Regions from separate parts of the Homo sapiens genome. Here region 1 is linked to region 2. Evidence: promoter capture Hi-C in 16 types of primary human blood cells and fetal thymus (Javierre and others, 2016). All regions are on one chromosome and are shown on one strand. The core of a region is centred on a gene start or on the middle of the fragment in contact, and the rest is flanking DNA. Distances in the headings are between cores, read along the strand shown.

The links. The method cuts DNA at HindIII sites, captures the fragments that hold promoters and counts their contacts. A CHiCAGO score of 5 or more calls a contact.
Region 1: a contact is called between a fragment that was not itself captured here and the fragment with the promoter of HOXC6 in region 2, in 16 of 17 cell types (naive B cells, naive CD8 T cells, total CD8 T cells and 13 more). The highest score is 20.7, in naive B cells.

What each region holds. Positions count from the first base shown.
Region 1 is chr12:54,198,694-54,201,892 of GRCh38, reverse strand. LOC105369777 (a long non-coding RNA gene) reads right to left here. Exons shown (of 3, transcript XR_944984.2): 3 at 1-1,433. Among named protein-coding and RNA genes, the nearest start is that of SMUG1, 11 kb to the right of the region's middle. The HindIII fragment of the contact is 6,102 bases long and covers 1-3,199 here.
Region 2 is chr12:54,026,698-54,029,927 of GRCh38, reverse strand. HOXC6 (homeobox C6) reads right to left here and starts at 1,488. Exons shown (of 2, transcript NM_004503.4): 1 at 1,007-1,488; 2 at 1-273. The coding sequence starts at 1,406. It also overlaps a transcript of HOXC4 not described here and a transcript of HOXC5 not described here. The HindIII fragment of the contact is 15,214 bases long and covers 1-3,230 here.

The DNA.
Region 1 (3,199 bases), core at 109-2,608, 170 kb before region 2:
GCCATGATGGTCTCGATCTCCTGACCTCGTGATCCGCCCGCCTCGGCCTCCCAAAGTGCTGGGATTACAGGTGTGAGCCACCGTGCCCGGCTTTTTCTTCCTTTTAATGAATGAGGTCACTGAGGCTCTGTGGGGAGGTGTGCCCAGGGTCACCAGATGGAGAGCGGCAGATTAGGAACAGAATGGGGTTAGCCTGTGTCCTCTTCCAGTGCTCCTTCTGGGCCCTACTCCTTCCTGATCAGGTGCCCTCGGGGCTGGGGCTGCCGATTTGGCCTCTCACAGAAGGTGGGGCCCTGGGTTCCCTGTCCTCTGCATCAGCAACCCTGGGCCCCAGCTCTAAGCACGGGTGTGGTGGTGGGAGGTGGAACTGCCTGTCCTGCCTCTGCACGGCCACAAGGGGGCTCCAGGACCAGGTTTTTCTTTTTGCTGGAGCTGCAAGGGTTCCCAGTAATCCCAGCACCCTGAGCTTTTCTGGAAGTGCCGGTTATCCTTCTGAAGCTGCCACTGAAGGGTCTCTGCCAGGCTGGGAGGCCATCAGAAAGGGCGCAGCCTTTGCACTTTATAATCCTATTCCAGAAGTACCTCCCTTTGCTTGGCTAGGAAGTCCTTCCAGTTGTCTACCCTCCATTTCTACTGCTACAGGCCGGGAGAGATGAGGCTGAGTGAGCCACTCTTCTTTCTTTGCTTACTACTCCCCTACCCAAGGCTTGAAGGGAAGTACTTGTTCTTGTCCCCATTCCCTGATCATTAGAGCTCAGACTGCTCTCCTGTCACTGCTAAGGGCTGGATAGACAGCAGCAGGAAAGATGTAAGTTAGACATCAGGAAGGACTTCCTGACAGAGAAGGCCATGGGCTGCTGGGTTTGAGTATCTGAGGAAGGCTGAACAAAGGGAAGTTGGCTGTTCATCTGGGGTGAGGCTCTGGGAAAAGTCCTCTGTGCTCCACACCCCGAAGCTATACATCCCTGGAAGTGGGGAGTGGGGCCTGGGTACAGTTATTTGCTACTGTGTCTCTCCGAACCTCAGGGAACCACAGATATTGCTGGCTCCTTGGGCTTCTGGGATGGGGAGGAGATCTGCGTGGGGGCTTACAAAGGGGTGGAAAGGAAAACACCTGAGCCACTCCCTCCCTTGGCTGGTGACCCAAGGCAGAGGGAAGGATGACATGATGGAACAGTTTGCTGCATCTACTTCAGTTGGCTTTCAGAGCCCCTGTGAGGTCTTCAGCTTCTTAGGTTATCATCAACCTACTGGGCAAAGACTGAGTCATGCGGGTGGAGTGCTTCTTGCGGCAGGTGGGGTGCTTCTTGCGGCAGGAGATGACGCTGCGCAGGATATGAAGGAGTCTGGTCCCCTCTGTTTTCTGCACCTTGACTTTCCAAGTGGGACATGAAATGTCATTTGCCTCTTCTGTCTTCAATGCTGAGGGGACCCTGGGGTCAAGGGAAGAGCAGGCCTTTGGAGTCAGACCTTACCTGTTGGAGCCGCATGGCGGACCGCTCTGTCTCAATCCCCGCATCAGAAGGGAAGGGTGGAATAAGAAATCCTACTTCCCAGGGCTGTGGTGAGCTTTGGGAGACGGCAGATGTGAAAGGGCCTCTGGGGGGGGGGGAGCACAGCACAGCAGGTGCTCCCGCCCAGACTCCTTTGTTCCTGGAGAAGGGGAGATGTGTCCATTTCCCAGATTGGAACATGGTGGCAGGAATGATACTAAGGCTCAAGGCCAGGATCTCTGCTGGACATGCTCCAGAGTCAAAAGTTTGGCCTCCCGCTCCCCTGGCTCCTCCTGTTTCCTCCCCTCCCTCTTCCCACAAGGCCCTTCTCTGGCTCTACTTTCTACCCTGCATCCACCTCTTTTCTTACTTTTTTTTTTTATTCTCCCTTCCTTCTTTCTTCCCCTTTCTCCTTCAGCTCTATTTCCTATTTCCTCTGTTCCTTTACTTTCCTCTCTTCCTCCCTTCCTTCCTTCTTTATTTTTTATGAGACGGAGTCTCGCTCTGTTGCCCAGGCTGGAGTGCAGTGGTATGATCTCAGCTCACTGCAACCTCTGCCTCCTGGGTTCAAGCGATTCTCCTGCCTCAGCCTCCTGAGTAGCTGGGACTACAGGCGCCCACCACCACGCCCAGCTAATTTTTTGTATTTTTAGTAGTGACGGGGTTCCACCATGTTAGCCAGGATGGTCTCGATCTCCTGACCTCGTGATCCGCCCGCCTTGGCCTCCCAAAGTGCTGGGATTACAGGCGTGAGCAACCGCACCCAGCCCCTTCCTTCTTTTACTAAGCATTAAGTTAGGTGAAAGAGATGATCAAGAGCACTAATGCACGTGCTGTACCCCCGATCATCTCCTGAGTTGTTTTCTTCTCAGTCTTTCTTTCTGATCTCCCCACTAGGCTGATGCTTCTGTTCTGTGGGCCTGGGATGGGAAGGAAGTTGATAATAAAATCTGGTTCAATTAAATGTGTGCCTGTATTTGTGTGTATCCTGGGGAGACAGCTGAATAGCACATGGTGGTCCTTGCCCTTGAAGGACTTGTGGCTAGGGAGGGAGGCTGCGGTGTCAGCAGCAGTGTGACAAGTGCTGCCTCAGACGTTTGAATAGGTTGCTGGGATCTGACGAAGAACATCAGAAAAGGCTTCACAGAGGAGGTGATGGTTGAGATGGGTTTTAAGGGATGAGCTGGAGTTTGCCAGGTTCAGCAGTGGGTGGAGAAAAAGGCAGTCCTGTCAGAGGGATTACCACAGGCAAAGACATGTTGCTAAGAAAGGGCAAGGAGAATTTAGGGAACCGGCAGTAGTTCTGTATGGCTGAAGCCGAGGGAGTCATGGGAGACTGAAATCCCAACCCAGAAGGGGAGCAACGATGCCCAATGGTCAGCTCACTAGCCATGCGAGAGTGGTGCAGAACAGGGCATTGCTCCCTGCTAAATGAATGACAAGGGGCAGTGGGAGCTGGGGGTGTGGAGAGGTGTGCCCTGGGCCTTCATCTCCTCCCTACTTGCTGGCTATTCTGCTCTGGGAAACCTACATTAACTGATCCTGGGCCTCGGTTGCCTCATCTATAAAACGGGGATGGTGAAGCCTTATCTCCTGAAGATGGGTAAGACAGACCTGATTTCTTTAGGTGCCTTTCAGCATTGAGAGCTGTAGGATTATGATCACTTGGGGTTTGTGTGATCAGAGAAGCCTTCATGGAAGTGGAG
Region 2 (3,230 bases), core at 239-2,738:
GCTTTTCCTCTTTTCCGCCCAGGCTGTCGGCGGTGGCCCCTCCGCCGCCCCCCGAGAGAGTGGATGTGAGATTAGATTCTTTTTTCCACTTCATCCGGCGGTTCTGGAACCAGATTTTGATCTGTCGCTCGGTCAGGCAAAGCGCGTTGGCGATCTCGATGCGCCGGCGCCGCGTTAGGTAGCGATTGAAGTGAAATTCCTTCTCCAGTTCCAGGGTCTGGTACCGCGAGTAGATCTGGCGGCCGCGCCTCCGGTCCGCTCCGTAGCCGACCCCTAAAGATCCGGGCACAAAACACACTAAAAGCAATCAGCAAAGCGTCCTCTGCAGACTGTTTCGCCTAGCAAAGTCCTGACCCTCCCAACCTGGCCAGCAGCTCACAGCCTCCTTAGGGCTCTAGCCTTCTCCCTTTTGCCTTGCCCCACCCCCACTGGGGGTACAGCGAGGACCCCAACTTCAGACCTCCTATAAGGTGGGACCTGTGTGTCCCAAAGAAAGGTGTGTGGTGGGGGGGGGGGCGGGGGGGCGGGGCAAAAGGCAAACAGAAAGCTGCAAGTCTAAAAGCAGATTTTTGAAAAATCCCAGATAATGGGGATGAGGGCCCCCTTTCTCAAGGACTGGGCTCCCCCATCTCCCCAAGCATCCTAGTTCCTTGGAAACTTCTCCCCACTTATCTGCCTCTCCTCTCCCCCTCCCTTCTCCTCAGACTGACTCCACTTTGGGGGGCTCCCCTATCTTCTGCTCCCTCCCCTCATCCCCTGCCCTGTTCCTGCCCCCTCAGCCCGCCTTGGGGCCCTCCAATCCGTCAGGGGCCAAGGGGGCCAGGCCCCTGCAAGCGAGCGAGAGGCGAGCTGAGGGGGCAGAAGAGGGGGCCCTGTCTCGGTGAGGAGACGAGCGTGATTGTTTTTATGGGGCCATAAAAAACTCTCTCCGCCCGTTCTTCTAGGGAAGCCGGTCATAAAGCCAGTTCAGTTTATTTAATTTATATCTCGGAGCTGTAAAACTCACCACTGTGCGAATTCATTCGCTGCATCCAGGGGTAAATCTGGATACTGGCTTTCTGGTCCTGGGGCGCAGTCCTGCCCTGCTCAGAACTAAAATCCTGAGCGATTGAGGTCTGTGTGTTATGTCCTAAGGTGTTTTGTCTGCAGTTTGAGAGCATGTCTTTCTCCTGGTAAAAGGAATTAGATCCATAGTCATACGGCCCCCGGCTGGAACTGAACACGACATTCTCCTGTGGCGAATAAAAGGGAGTCGAGTAGATCCGGTTCTGGGCAACGGCCGCTCCATAGGTCGAGAAATGCCTCACTGGATCATAGGCGGTGGAATTGAGGGCGACGTTGGGGAGGACGTCCTGGCCCCCGGCGAGGTGGCAGGATAAGGAAGGGTTAGTGAAGTAGGAATTCATCCCTTTGCCTTTACCTGGTCGGTCTATGATTTCTTTAATATTTATTTCTGTCTCCAGTTTGTACTCGGAACTAGATGGTTATAGGGACGGCTCCAATCCAGGACAGACAAAATGACAAAGTCAGCTGACCCCCTCCCAGCCAATCGCAAGCCAGATGTCAGGAAGGGGGAAAAAAATCGCTTCTGCTTCTGTTGATTCCCTAGTTGAGACTAAGTGTGTGCTTTGAAAGTAAGACTTGGATTTCTTTTAAAAAATATATATATATATATATATATGTAAGGGAACTGGTTTGGTGGTGAAGGAGGGGTGCATGTCCCTGAGCAGGGCCTTGGGACTCAGGGAAGGAGAGCTGTACTACCAGGAAATCTCTCAGCCCCAGCTAACTTTGCTGTGCTGTGGCCAGAGCCAGGGCTAGAGAAACCCCTGTATTTTCAATCTGGTTTCATGTTTTATATCTGCCCCCTTCTAAAATTACATCCTGATTTCTCCAAGGGAAGAACTCCCTCCCAGCACAGGAGGGGGGTCCCTAGAAATCCTGCAGGAAATCCTGTTTTGACACTCCATGGAGTGAGTCCCATCACTAAACTAGTATTTTTTTCACCAATAATTAAAAAAAAATCAAAAGTAGAAAGAAATTTCATAAAACCTGTTCCCCTGAGTAAGTAGAGTGTGGCTGAGAGTCTTGAATGTAGTAGGGATGTGGGGAACAACTAGGTCTAAAGGGGCAAGACTTCAGGGTACAGTGGCAGAGCTGGAGTGGGCAAATGGGCCACGCATCTGCTCTCCTTTGCCTCCTGGCTCCCTTCTGCCTCCTTCTCAGGACCCCTCTGTTGGGAAAACTCTTCCAGCATTTTTGCCTAAAAGGGAAAATGTATAAAAAATGCAATAGAAAAAGGAGAAAAAGAAGTAAAATGTAGGGAGGTGGCACCGGAGGGGGAAAGACAGAGAGAAAGAGAGAGAGAGGAAGAACGAAAACTCTGAGAATCTTTCTAGAGACATCAACTCCTGTTTATGTTGGTGAGAATTTATTATTTGGAGCCAGTGAGGGCCTGTGGGGTAATTCACATAGGATCCAGCCAGAAAGAGAAGGCTGGTGGGGCTCTGATGGACAGTTAGCTTCCTGCAGGCTCAAGCCCCTGCCTTGGTCAGAAGCCCCCCTGCCCCCTCCAGACTCAGGGCACCGCCAGTGGAGGCGCCCCTGGACCTGAGCTATGAGGCTTGGAGACTTCAGAAAGGGGTTCTAAGGAGCTCTCACCCAAGTGCCAGTCACCCGTGGTGGGGATGGGCCTCTCAGCAACCTCAACGCCCATTTTATTCCCCCATCTTGGGGCTAAAAAAAGGGAAGAGACGGTTACGAAAAGGCAGCTGAATCCGAGGCTTGTGAGGGAGCCGCAGTAGGCGAACTGAAACAGCGGAAAGTGTGCAGATGGGGGTTTTCTCCTGATTAGTCCAAACTTAATTTGATATCGTGATATAGGCTGAAAATGCCTTGAGTTGACAAAGAAGGGTGGTGGGGAGTGTGCGGGGAGCAGAGAAAGCTCATATCCCCCCCCCCCCACCATTTTTGGGTGGGTTGGGGGGGGGGAAAGCTGGCTATAACAAGAACCCGGATGTCGCCGGATTTTATGATCTTTTCCTTCTGTGTAACAAAGCGGAGTAATCAATGGGTAGCAATAAAGCCATAAACGGGACTATGCTGAGAAAAAACTCGTTTATTCATCTTCTGTAACGTTAAGGTTTCCCTGGAGTGTCGCTAGGGGGGAAAAATAAAGTTTCGAACCCAAAAGCAGACAGTGTGCAGGAGCTGGTGGAGACAACATGTTA